Regions from separate parts of the Homo sapiens genome. Here region 2 is linked to region 1. Evidence: promoter capture Hi-C in human tissues and cell types (Jung and others, 2019). All regions are on one chromosome and are shown on one strand. Each heading gives the region's core, a stretch centred on a gene start or on the middle of the fragment in contact. The rest is flanking DNA. Distances are from core to core; before and after follow the strand shown. Region 1 holds the start of PTPRZ1 (protein tyrosine phosphatase receptor type Z1). Region 2 overlaps PTPRZ1 (protein tyrosine phosphatase receptor type Z1).

The links. The method cuts DNA at HindIII sites, captures the fragments that hold promoters and counts their contacts. A contact is called where the count stands out against the background at its distance.
Region 2: a contact is called between a fragment that was not itself captured here and the fragment with the promoter of PTPRZ1 in region 1, in 7 of the 25 tissues and cell types used here (H1 embryonic stem cells, dorsolateral prefrontal cortex, heart left ventricle and 4 more).

Annotation. Positions count from the first base shown.
Region 1 is chr7:121,869,876-121,876,365 of GRCh38, forward strand. It overlaps PTPRZ1 (protein tyrosine phosphatase receptor type Z1), which reads left to right and starts at 3,286. Exons shown (of 30, transcript NM_002851.3): 1 at 3,286-3,682. The coding sequence starts at 3,625. RefSeq lists an enhancer at 3,242-3,743. The HindIII fragment of the contact is 8,425 bases long and covers 1-6,490 here.
Region 2 is chr7:121,910,234-121,916,150 of GRCh38, forward strand. The region is part of intron 1 of PTPRZ1 (protein tyrosine phosphatase receptor type Z1); the gene reads left to right. Among named protein-coding and RNA genes, the nearest start is that of PTPRZ1, 40 kb to the left of the region's middle. The HindIII fragment of the contact is 4,966 bases long and covers 947-5,912 here.

The sequences.
Region 1 (6,490 bases), core at 2,036-4,535:
ATTGCCAGATTTTGCTAATAAAAATACAGAGCAACTAGTTAAACTTGGGTTTCAGATAAACATTAATTTTTTTAAATATAAGAATGTCCCAAATATTGCATGAGAGTATATAAAAATTATTTATTGTGTGTCTGAAATTCAAATTTCACTGGGCATCCTCTCTTTTATCAGGCAATACTATGCAGAGACATTTTAGTAGTGATGCTTTTCTCTCCTATTAGAATGTGAGTCCCTTTATGGCAGAGATGAAATAATTCGTTATGCATCAGTGTGTGATACATAATGAACACACACAACAGAATTGTATTAAATGAAAAACTGAATGTAAAGAACAAATTTTAAAGACCCTCAAATTTGTTCTCTTTTAGAAAACTCTTGAGTTTTGAAATTTTTGTCAAATCTTCCATTATGCAACCGCTATCTACCTCCAGAAATATTCCTTTTCCTTGTAGGTTCAACTAATATAATCTCTTCTCATCTCTTTGTTTAAACTGTTCATATGAAACAGTATATTATATTTATTGAGAGTGATAAGACTCCCAGAGCTTTGGCTTATACATGAGTTTGGATTTACAAAATGCTCCAGGATGGTATGTAGGTGAGGATAAAATGTACCTAGTTTACCAAGCTAATGTTTTAGATATAGGTTCTGTTTGTCTCTGTCTCTGCCTCTTTCTGTTCTGTCTCTGTTTTTCTACATATATTCTCTCTGAATACATGTATACATAAATTTATATATATATGTATACTCTGAATGAAGGTGTGTGGTTTTGCAAGTTCATAACTTTAACTCACAATGGCTAATGCACATTAATCAGGTACCATGTCTCAGAAATGACTATGACCCCAGTAACACTGTGAACTGTGAGATACAGTACATTTTTGATGTTTCTGCTCTGCTGATGCCTTCTCTTCTCCCATGCCTTGGCTGTTACAGTGACCTATATTCCAAGGACCTCAACCTCCTACTCCATCATCCCTCCCAGAGATCATCAGAACCACATTCACTGGTCCTCCAGTCAGTTTCCCACAGCTGTCATTCAGTCTCACAGAATTGGCCTCTATCCTGAATCCCATACAAACCTCAATAGCAACATGACTACTCCCTCCAGGTGGCTTTTGTGCCTTCCCAGGGAATGACAGTAATATTAACTATGAGAACAAAATTAGCAGAAATCACATATTCCCCTTCCCTTTTTACTAGGGAAATTTATTTCAACAGTGTTGTTGTTTGGTGATCTAATTCAAAAGATTGACAAGTGATGTGATTTTTTTGTCCAGTAAGAGAAAACTCAGGGTTATGGTGGTTGTTGGATTATTCTTGCAGGCTACTGGGGTATCCTTGATAATTGGAACCTACTGGAACACCATAATTCCCCTAAGCAAACCAAGCTTCCCCTAAATAGCAGAAGTTCTTAGGAGTTTCTTTTGTGGTCCCTCCTGTGTTGTATTTCACATATAAGCTGCTCCACTGGGAAATCAATGTTTGTCACAGTCTGACCCCACTCAATCTGCTCAAATGTAATTCACACTGTTTTTTTAATGGCATATGACATCTGCTTCTTTCCTTCCTGTCCTCACTGCCTTTGACATGGTTTTTTTCCCTGCTAGTCCTTCTTGTTTAACTACACATCTCTAGGAAAGCTTTCCTGCCTACTCCAGTCAATATTAAATAAAACTTTCTCTGAACTCTCAGTGCACAGTCAGTTTATACACCTGCATACTTCTTGTAATGCTAGCAAAAAAAAATGGCCCCCAAATTTTCTTCCTATATGGAAACTCACATGAGCAGCCATCAATCCCCATCATAATTCTTGTAAAAGTTGTAGCATTTCTATTTCTGTTCATGGAAAGAATAAGATCAAGGATCAACTTCTTAATATTGATATGTGTTTCTGAATAAACACTAAATGGTTTCAAAATCTGTTATTACATGACTATAATCTATTCCTGAAGCAACAGCAAACTGCCATTAGCTTGCACATTTAGCCAAATGTTCACAGGCTGGGATATTAGCAAGAACTCGTAGTAACACTTGAAATACATTCAGAACCCAATTTTATGTGCAGGAAGTTTTCTTTAAAATTTTTAAAGCTAGAATACTATTTTTGAGACAAGAACAGGACACAAGAGTATACACTGTACAGATACCTACTTCAAATTGTTACTAAGAATACATGGGATAATTCCACAACTTGGCTTTCTGTGCCTTAGATGGGACTCCTAAAAGGCTCTAAAGTGGGTCTCATATACGAAAAACATGTACTAATAGTTAAAGGATATCATATAAATGAAAATCTCATAAATTTTCAGTGTAGAGACTACCACCAATTACCTTCTCATTATTTCCTTTTGGCTTCAAATTAATTCAACAAATATTCAGGGAACACCTATTGATTTTTTTTAAGGCCATTTTGCTAGGATCTGGGGTTATAGTAATAAAGGTAAACTCCCTGCCATCAAGGCGCTCACAGTCTAATTCTGAACACCACCAAAGAAAAGAGCACATGAGGGTGACATTTCCAGCTCTAAGGCAGCAGAAGGTATGCATTATACATTTTTTGCATACCCTTCAATCAAGCAATAAAAAATCTTCCCGTTCGACCCTGTGGGAGGAGGCACTTGTGTGGTTCGGTCTGGCAGGACCACCGCCGTGTTGAAAGTCCCCCCAGACAGCTGTGCCCAGCACGGCAGTTTCGTTGGGGTCTAGGGAAAGGGCAGGGTCAGACTGGTCACAATCAGGGCTGGAGATTTTTTGGAGTCAACTCTCCCAAAGGCAATGGGGTCTACTGCTTTATTAGGAAAATGGAAAGAAAAAAGGGAGGGAAACAATGTACCCAGGCGCCCCCACCGCATTCTGATTGGACCCACTTAAGCATCTGCAGAAAACAATAAAATGAAAAAAACTCTTAGAGGTGAAACTCAAAGGTCAACCTCTGGCTGTGCGGGACAATGGGTGTCCGGCCTTCCCTTCCCTTCCCTTCCGAAGTGATGAAGGAGTTCCAATGTTCTGCGAACACTGGAAACCCCAGCGGATCCCTCTAACTCCAGGGCAGCGAAACCACTGGCAGCGGACAGAGGGAGGATTGTCGGTGTGTGAATTGCTACCCTGGGATCCGGACCCAGAGCGGCAGCCGCGCCCCTCCGCCCCCCGCGCGACCCCGGGTCCGAGGCACGCTCCCAGCGGAGCGGTCCTGCGCCCCCGCCCCCTCCAGGAGCCGCGGCGCGCACAGCCGGGCTGGAGCGCGCACCCGGCACTGAGGCTTCGCTGCTCTCGGAGCGCTCAGACCGCGGCCGCCGCAGCCGGCGAAAGAGGCAAAGTCCCGCACGCCGGAGGACATGCGCCTCGGCTAGCGGCCCCGGGCCCCACCACCGTGCGGCTTTCTCCAGATTATTCCTCTCTCGCTGTCTCTGACTGTCTCTCTCTGTCTCTGTCTCTGTCTCTCTCTCTCTCACACACACACACACACACACAAACACACATACGCACGCACGATCTCACTTCGATCTATACACTGGAGGATTAAAACAAACAAACAAAAAAAACATTTCCTTCGCTCCCCCTCCCTCTCCACTCTGAGAAGCAGAGGAGCCGCACGGCGAGGGGCCGCAGACCGTCTGGAAATGCGAATCCTAAAGCGTTTCCTCGCTTGCATTCAGCTCCTCTGTGTTTGCCGCCTGGGTGAGTGAGAAGAGCTCGGTGGGGTTTCAGCTCCGGGATCGGTGGGATGAGGGTGGGAGCATTTCAGCGTGTCCGCGACTTGCCGCCGCCGCCGCCATCTAGCCAGGAGGAAAAAGGGACAGCCAACTGGGCTCCCACGGAGCGGGCGGCCGCGCGGTGCAGGCAGCTGCGTGGGATTTGCGCGCCCCCTCCCCGCCCCGCGCCCTCGCCCCTTCCATCGGCCCGCGGGCATTCGTGCCCCGGGCCCCAGGAGACGGAGCTACTGGAGACGGAGGGCTACTCGGATCCCTGCCGCCACCGTTCTTCTCTCCTCTTTTGCAAAGTGTAGAAATCGCCTTTTAGATATACATAGGAAGATAAATGACCAGAAATACAGCTGTGGTGCGGGGCTGTGTACTGTACTGTCTTTTTTGCTGTTCATTTTTATGCTATAGGTATGATGGGCTTAAATGGAAAGTACACGTGTCTGGTGTGAATTGCAGACACACACACACACACACACACACACCTGAAAGGTAGTAACAGGCACAAGCACCAACCTGACTTTTCAGGGTTTTTTTTATTACTTTCAATTTAGTCATATTCAAGTCTGCGCAATTACTTACAAAAAAAAAAGTTCCATCTAAATCTCTAGGTTTGGTCAGTGCTGCCAAAGTCAGAGGAGAGCTGCAGGTTGATATACTTATTCACAGATTTCATTTTTCATCTGCACCCTCCAGGTTACATTTAAAACTGAAATTGCATTCAGCAATAGCCAGTTTAAGCATTCCCTTTACCTGCGATGCAGACTCAAGTTTTCCAGTCATTTTCGAGAAGTGCAAGATTGGACTTTTGCGTTTTATTAAAGAAATGCTTTTTTTCCTTCATGATTTTCCATCGCGATAGAATATAATGGGTTTACGCATTAACCTGAAAGTTACAAAGTGTTGTACTTCGCTTTGTGAGTACACATATTTAATTCTTTTCAGAGGCTCCCAATTTTTCAATTTTAGATGGTTCATAGTAGAGTAGATATTAAGCGTACATTTTCATCCAATAGATGGTGCTGCTCTTGGCACAGTAACCTTTACAAACAGAAACTATTTTTAAGTTCTAATAAATGAAAATTACATTGCAAATACGGTGATAATTGCCCATAGACCCCCACACACGGACATAATTTAAATTTCAAAGGCTTTATGAAAGTGCTTGGGGTGGTGTGATGCATAGTTGACACATAAGACATGCAAGGGAATCTCTGGTCTCCATTGATTCTAAAACCTTATAGTCAGTTCTGGAGAGGGGAAGACAGCTTTAAAAAGTACGTGGTCATCAAACATCTGTTGAATTCACATTTCTATTGTAGATCTATTTTAACAAAGAAGGCAGGTCCTCTTAGTAATTAAATTATGTAAGTAAATATCACAGTAGCAAGGAAATAAACCAGAGAGTATTGCTTTGTATGTCTTCAAAACCACATGCCCAGAGCATGTTGCGGATCTCTTTGAAAAAAAAAAAAAGATAAAATTCACACATTATACAATTCATCTTTTTAAAATGGTCCAGTGGTTTTTAATATATTCGTGAAGTTGTGCAGCCATCACCACTAATTCCAGAATGTTTTAATGACCCCAAAAAGAAACCCCATGTTCCTTAGCAGCCATTCCCCATTCTCCATGACCCCAGCTCCTAGCAACCACTAATCTACTTTCTGTCTCTATAAATTTGCCTATCCTGGACATTTCATATAAATAGAATCATGCAACTTGTGGCCTTTTCTGTCTGTCTTTGTTCACTTGGCATAATGTTTTCAGTTTCATCCATGTTATAGTATGTATAAGTACTTCATTCCTTTTTGTGGCTGAGTAATATTCCATTATGCCAATATACTAAATATATCACATTTGCAAAGGTTTTTCTCTGTAAAGCATTATTTGTAGCCTATTTTTGGTTGTATAGTTTTCAGTTTGTTGGACATTTTCTTTAAGTCTTTGGTGATGTAAAATTTAAGTGTAAAGAATTTAATTAACTTTTAAAGACTATCACAAGCTTATGTAATGCTACTGAATGTAAGCTTGCATTGGAACTCCAAGTGAGTTTTGTTGAGACTGGAAGGTGACTACTTTTGTATTCCTCACCATTTTAACAAAGTTGGCCTTTTACACAGTTGCCAACAGGCTGACCTGGAGGCATTGGCAACATCAAGTAACATAAATATCTTGATCTTGGGGCAGCATGTTTTGAAAAAGTGAGGCACATTATCTTCAAATGAAAAAGTTAGGCTCCATTTCAATTATTTTTCACTCAGCACCTACTTCAGTGTTTGTGGATGCGTTTACCCCTCATCTTCAGTGTTCTTAGAGCCAATGAGGTAGCCTGACATATGTATTAAGTGCTCAGTAAGGGTCTGTCAACTGACTAAAACTTGCTGTACAGGAGAAGAGCTCAATACAATTTGAACATTAGGCTGTCATTCTTACCATTATCCAGGAACAAGTTGTAGAGTTCACTAAGATATTGATTATTGGCAATTAAGAATGTCTTAGTGATCAGATCAGATCATTTTGTATCTAAAATGTCCTGATGTTTTGAACTGGACATAATAGACCAACTGCTTCTTTCAAATAACTTTCCAGACAAAAAATTTATCAGAATACATGAACCAAAACAAATTTTTCTTGACCCACTGAACAGGTGTATCTTATGGGAAAAACTACAGTGGCTTTCCTGTAAGGAGGCTTAACTATGAGTCATAGAGGAGAGGTAGATATTTTAAGAGCTTTTAAGGAATAATTTCTTCCAATTAATGAAGGAATTCAGGATCTTTGA
Region 2 (5,917 bases), core at 2,180-4,679, 41 kb after region 1:
GCTTGAATGTCACTTCTCAGCAAGGTTCCCCTTGACCACTCAGTCTAAAATTGCACCTGCTCATGCATCTGCCTTATTCCGCTCTAATGCTTTTCTCCATAGTGTTTATCACCTTCTTAAATACTGCATGATTAAGTCATTTATTATGGTTTTTGTTAACTTTCTATCTCCCCTTGCTACAATGTGAACTACACAAGGACAACATGTTTGTGGTTTGGATGGCTGGGGGGTCCACCAGTGCATCTCAAGTGCCTATATATATATATGAAACATATATATGGAACACTTTTTATTTTAATGAGCTATTCAGTATTTCAGTAAGCTATTAAATGGTGCTTGGCATACAGTATGTAATCAGTATATATTAGTTGAAGGTATCAATTAACTAAATGAAGAAAGAAAAGACTAAAAAAGGAAGGGAAGAAAAAAGAGAAGGTGGGACAAAACAAGGGACACAAGTTAGGAGGCAAATGCATTATTTCATAAGATGGTGGTGGTTTGAGTTTGGGTAGAGGCACGATAAATGGAGAGAAGTGAATGAATTTGAAATAGGCTTGAACATAAATTTGGCATTATAATGAAAAATATGATTATTTCTAAAACCAATGTTTCATCTGTTTTATAAGCAGGAAATACCTGAAAATAAGGAATGTCAAGATTCTAGTATATGTTATTAGAAGTGAATGGCATTCATAGTCATGGAAAATAAAGTTAAATTATTAAATGCTATTTAAAGCCACAGAAGTTCTAGACATCGAATAAAAATAAGAATGATACAATAACTTAGCTAATGACAACAATAAAAGCTTTTGTAGAGTTTTCCTACAAGTTTTACAGTTTAGCTTGCCTGTAAGTTACAAATACGAGGATTTTTGTGCTTTGAACTATAAAAGCTCATACCTAAGAGTAATGAAAGGTTTAATATTGTACTTATTTAATAGTGCTTTCTTCTATTAAAAACATAGTATTCTATTCTTATTTATAATTTTATGGAAACCAATTTCACTAACATTTATAAAGTTTGATTTGAAAATAAATTATATTTCTTAATAATTATATGCACAGTTATGACCTGCATGGATTTAAGCTTTCGCATAATTTAAAAATCCATATCTTCATTTTGACTGTATATTTGAAAATACTGATGACAGAGTAATCTGATTGCACTGTAACTGGCCATTTTTGTGAAATAAAGTCCTTTTTTCTTGTCTCAGTAGTCATAACTAGTTACGTGTATATTGTGGTTTTCTTCCATATAAATGTTTCTAGATTGCGTACATTTAAAATAACTTTTCATGTCTAATTCTGATGCACATCTTTAGCAAATATGAACAGCAACCTTGCCACTGTCTCTGATTCTTAACTTCTTCCTTCTCTTATCCTTTCCTTATCTTATCTTCTTTCCTTTTCTTATCCTTTCAGAGCCTCTTCCTTTTCTGAAACTTAGATGGGAGATAGGAAGGTATGGTTGTAAAAGCATTACATCTGTCATATGATCTATCACATATCATATAAGAAAATGCATTATATTTTGGAAACTTTAATTTTATACACATATATATGAAATATGTTCATATGAAATACATTTCACTTTATTAAGCTATTCAATATCTCAATAAGCTATTCAATATTACAGGCACCTAGATAACTAAAGGTCAGTCATTACATTTATTTCAGTGTAAGAACTTAACGGGGAAAAATTTAAGTTCTGTTAATGAGTTTCTAATAAAAGTAGACCTGTTTTGAAAACAGAAGTGTCTGTTTCCTTGTTATATTTGAAATAAAAAATTATGATGAAGCATTTTCCAGTGTATGAAACTAAGATTCTTTTATCCATAAGGGACTAATGTGTAGTTGAAGATGTCCGTAATTGAACAGCAGGAAGTATTAGATAAATTCAAGAAAGCCCAGTAAATCCTAGAGGGAATTAGAAATAAAGTTCATATATTTATTGTTAACTGCAACCATTTTATATGAAAATTATAACAAGGCAAAGCTTACATTTCATTATCAATATAGTGTCCCTATCCACTGTTCTTTGATAGCAGTCAAGTATGGGAAACAATATAAGAGATGGTTATGAAGTTGATAACGTGTTTAGCACTGGTTTGTACTCATTCTGTATCCAGGAATCTCTTTTTATTCATTGTGTTAAATATTCATGAGCACTTACTCTGTGTCTGATACTATGATGTAGAGGATCGAAGAGTGTACTAGTTTCTGCTCTTAAAGTAATCCATAGGCAGAAGAGAGACATACAGGTGTATGTTCATTGAAATATGACAGCTACCATTTGAAAAATGCATGGAAATATAGATGCTTAGTGCATTTGGTAAAGAAGCGGGTGAGACTAAGGGAAGGGGAATTTTTAGGGTAGCAGTGCTTAAGTATGTTACAGGGGCTTAAAAGAACAGTTCAGTGAAGGAGAGATTGAAGTCCAGAAAATCCTGGAGAAGGTAGGAGGATGGGAAAAGAGTGGTGGCATCTGTCTCTATGAGATACAATGAGAAAGACGATGATGAAAATAGAACTTAGTTAAAAGGTGAAGAGGAGGGAACTTGCAAAATTTCCCGTTTTCTGTTTTCTTGGTGAGAACAGAATGTTCAGTCTGCTCCTGATCATAAAAGGAAGGATTTAGCAGTCACTGATCTGAAAAAGGTTGGGGAACAGAGACGGGTAAATGAATTATGGGTGTCAGGGAACATTCCTCTAAGATTATAAATCCTAAATTTGTCATTTATTCATGTAATGAATATTTACAGAGCACGTTTGCCTAGGTTAGGTGTTGAATATGCAGCAGGGAGCAAGATAGGCACATTTTGAATTCTTAAGCAGTTCATGCCTTCATGACACAGTAAACAAATATTAAAAAATTATTACTCAATTATAATTGTGAGAAAGACCGTAAAAGTTAAAGAAATGGTATTAAGATACCATATGATGCATGAGAAGGCTTGGGATTGGGTGAGGAGGCAGAGAAAGGAGAAAGTAGAGATACCCAGTTGGAGAAATGGCTGAGCAAAGGCCCTGAGACCAGGTGCTTGAGGGAGGCAAGGCTTCCCACTCAGTGTGCTCTGGTGCCACTCGTGAATTACACGTGTGTCAAATATTCATCCGCTCAGCTCTTATGTGTTATTCCAAGGCACAAAGAACATTATCACTTTCTAACTGAGCCATAATATGAAATAGTTTGAGAAGCTTTGCATTAGGGGAAGTGACCTCAGAAAGTTTTCATCTGTAGCACCAGCAAGGTGCATGGAATAAATAAAATATCTGGATGTTTTATTAATTTGGCCCTTCTTGTGTGTTTATAGTCATTGAATTAATTGGTTTATTCAGCAAATAGGTAGTTGATAAAATGACACTGCATTTAACCTGGCTAGTTTTATAAATATTACAAATTGACACAGAGACGGTCCACAATATGGAAGTTTATCTTGGGGTTTTTTATGAAAAGATTTAAAAAATTATCTTACCTTAGCAGGTATGGGGGAAAGTTTTCTCTCATTTCTTTTCCATTGAGTATTGTCAGTAAAATAGAATAAGATTGAGTGAAATTTCAAATTATTTAATGTTCAACCAAAAGAATTCTCAACTTATTCACACATATATATTAAGTAAAGAATTCAGAAAATCATTAATAAAGTTCAGACAAAAACCGTCTAACCTAATTCCCGGGAAAAAAACTGGAACTCTGCCTAGAATTATCCAGCTACACAGTCTGTATTCATTTTTTAATTGCATACCTTATCCTTTTTATCTCTGTGTATAGCACCTATTTAAAAGAAACAGAAACCTGGCCTGGTGTGGTGGCTCATGCCTCTGATCCCAGCACTTTTGGAGGCCGAGGCGAGCAGATCCCTTGAACCCAGGAGTTCAAGAGCAGCCTGGGCAACATGGTGAAACCCTGTCTCTAAATAAATATGTAAAAGAAAGAAACAGAAACCAGACATTTCTGTTTTTAGCTGTGGGTTGCTACACCTCTGTGAAATCATAGGTGTTTACCACTGTCTTAAATCACTGGTTTATGATTACTTGATATTTTCTGGATTTTTAAAACATTACTTCTTTTTTTAAGTGGTGTAGAAGTAACGTTTTAGCATACTATAAATTTCTGGTAATAATTTGTATTACAAAGGTGCATATTGTTTAAGGTCCCAAGTAAGCTTTATGTATAGAAAAGGTTCCTCTGCTCTTTCTTTTTGTCCTCAAACGTAAACTTCTGGAGACCTGGAGAGAATGAAAGGCGTCCGAGTGTGTGTCCATGGCAATCCGCTAGCTGTGTGGAGGAAGTTACAGTGGCATTAAGCCATGAAAAGGATCAATTGTTTTTGTGAAAAATCCTTGGGACGTGCCTTGAATTTAAAGAATCAAGTTCATTAAAATCATAAATCATCTATTAATCTTATTTTGTTGAAATATCCTTGGTGGTCCATGGTATTTTAAAGACCAAAATTGTAAAAAATGTAGTTAAAGTAACAACATAATGGGATTGTTGAGGACCGTGAAATAATATCCTCAATGCCTTTTCTTCTTGAGGGTTTTTACTGGATACTTGCTCTACCTATACCTCTCCTAACTACAGAACTGAACATGATGTGAGATGTGTAACTTTCATTTATTCACTCATGTGCCAGGCACCATGCTGACATTACATGTGAAAAGTTTCCAAGGTTTTCTTGTTACGTCTACAATTACTGCTAAGTTTCCCGTAAGTAATTTGGGGGACTGGAAACGAGGGCAAAATTACATGAAGGGCTTAGAAAACTGCATCAATTCTTTTTGGATGTGTCAGGGAGATGGGGGTAGTCTTTCTCCCTGCTAATCAAGACCCACTAGAGCACCGCCGTATACTGCACACATACTTCTGAATGACAGGAGCTTTGTGTGAGATGAGAAAGCTGTGTCAGGCTGATGGTATTATCATGATTCCTTGGAATGGATCACCATCCCAAATCACCAGACACTCCCTGATCAGGAGGGAACAGCACATTCTCCAGCTACTGTATTATTTGGGAGGTTCAGGTAGGAAGTGAGTGCATAGCCTCAAGGGGTCTGGTGGAGGTCCTCTTGGGAAATGCAGAACTTCTTTGCCTACTAATGCCCCTTGCTCTGAGACCGGAGAGGCTTCTGGGAATTTTATCCTCACAAGAAACATTCATTTCATTTAAATAGTATGTGAAGCAAGACATTTAAGTTAGTTAGAGGTGCATATCATTTAAAATGGCAGGAGATGACAGTTTCTGCAAGCCATTTCTGAAGTTAAAAAACAAGGTAGTTTAAAATAAATTGTATTTCAGCAGTCACTATTTTCTTAATTTACCAATGAACTTGAATGACATATTAAAGAACTTTAGGCATTATACTCTGGTTTGTGATCCGCTTGAACACAAAATGCATATTATGTGATCTTATTTCCAAGGTTAAATCAGTGTATCCTTGGCTAGATCTATAATAGCTTATCAGATAAACATCTTCTGTCAAAATAATATTTGCCATTAATGAAATTAATGGCAGAAGTATAAACTTCAGAAAGATATGATCACTTAGATGCTAAAAAATCTATTAAGGAAAACAGGTTACATTTCAATATCTTTGTCTTTGTGTTCTATGATATGTAAATTCCAAGGTGTAAATCCTTTCATAAAAACATTTTTTTCTTTTTCCTAGACTTAGAGAGAAACATTGACTTGCCCACAGAGCTAGCTCCTTTGATGTGCAATAATGCTACCTGTGGTCTGTTTTAAGATGCTCTTTTTTGGCCAGGCGCAGTGGCTCATGCCTGTAATCCCAGCACTTTGGGAGGCCGAGGCGGGCAGATCATGAAGTCAAGAGATTGAGACCATCCTGGCCAACATGGTAAAACCCCGTCTCTACTAAAAATACAAAAATTAACTGGGCGTCATGGTGTGCGCCT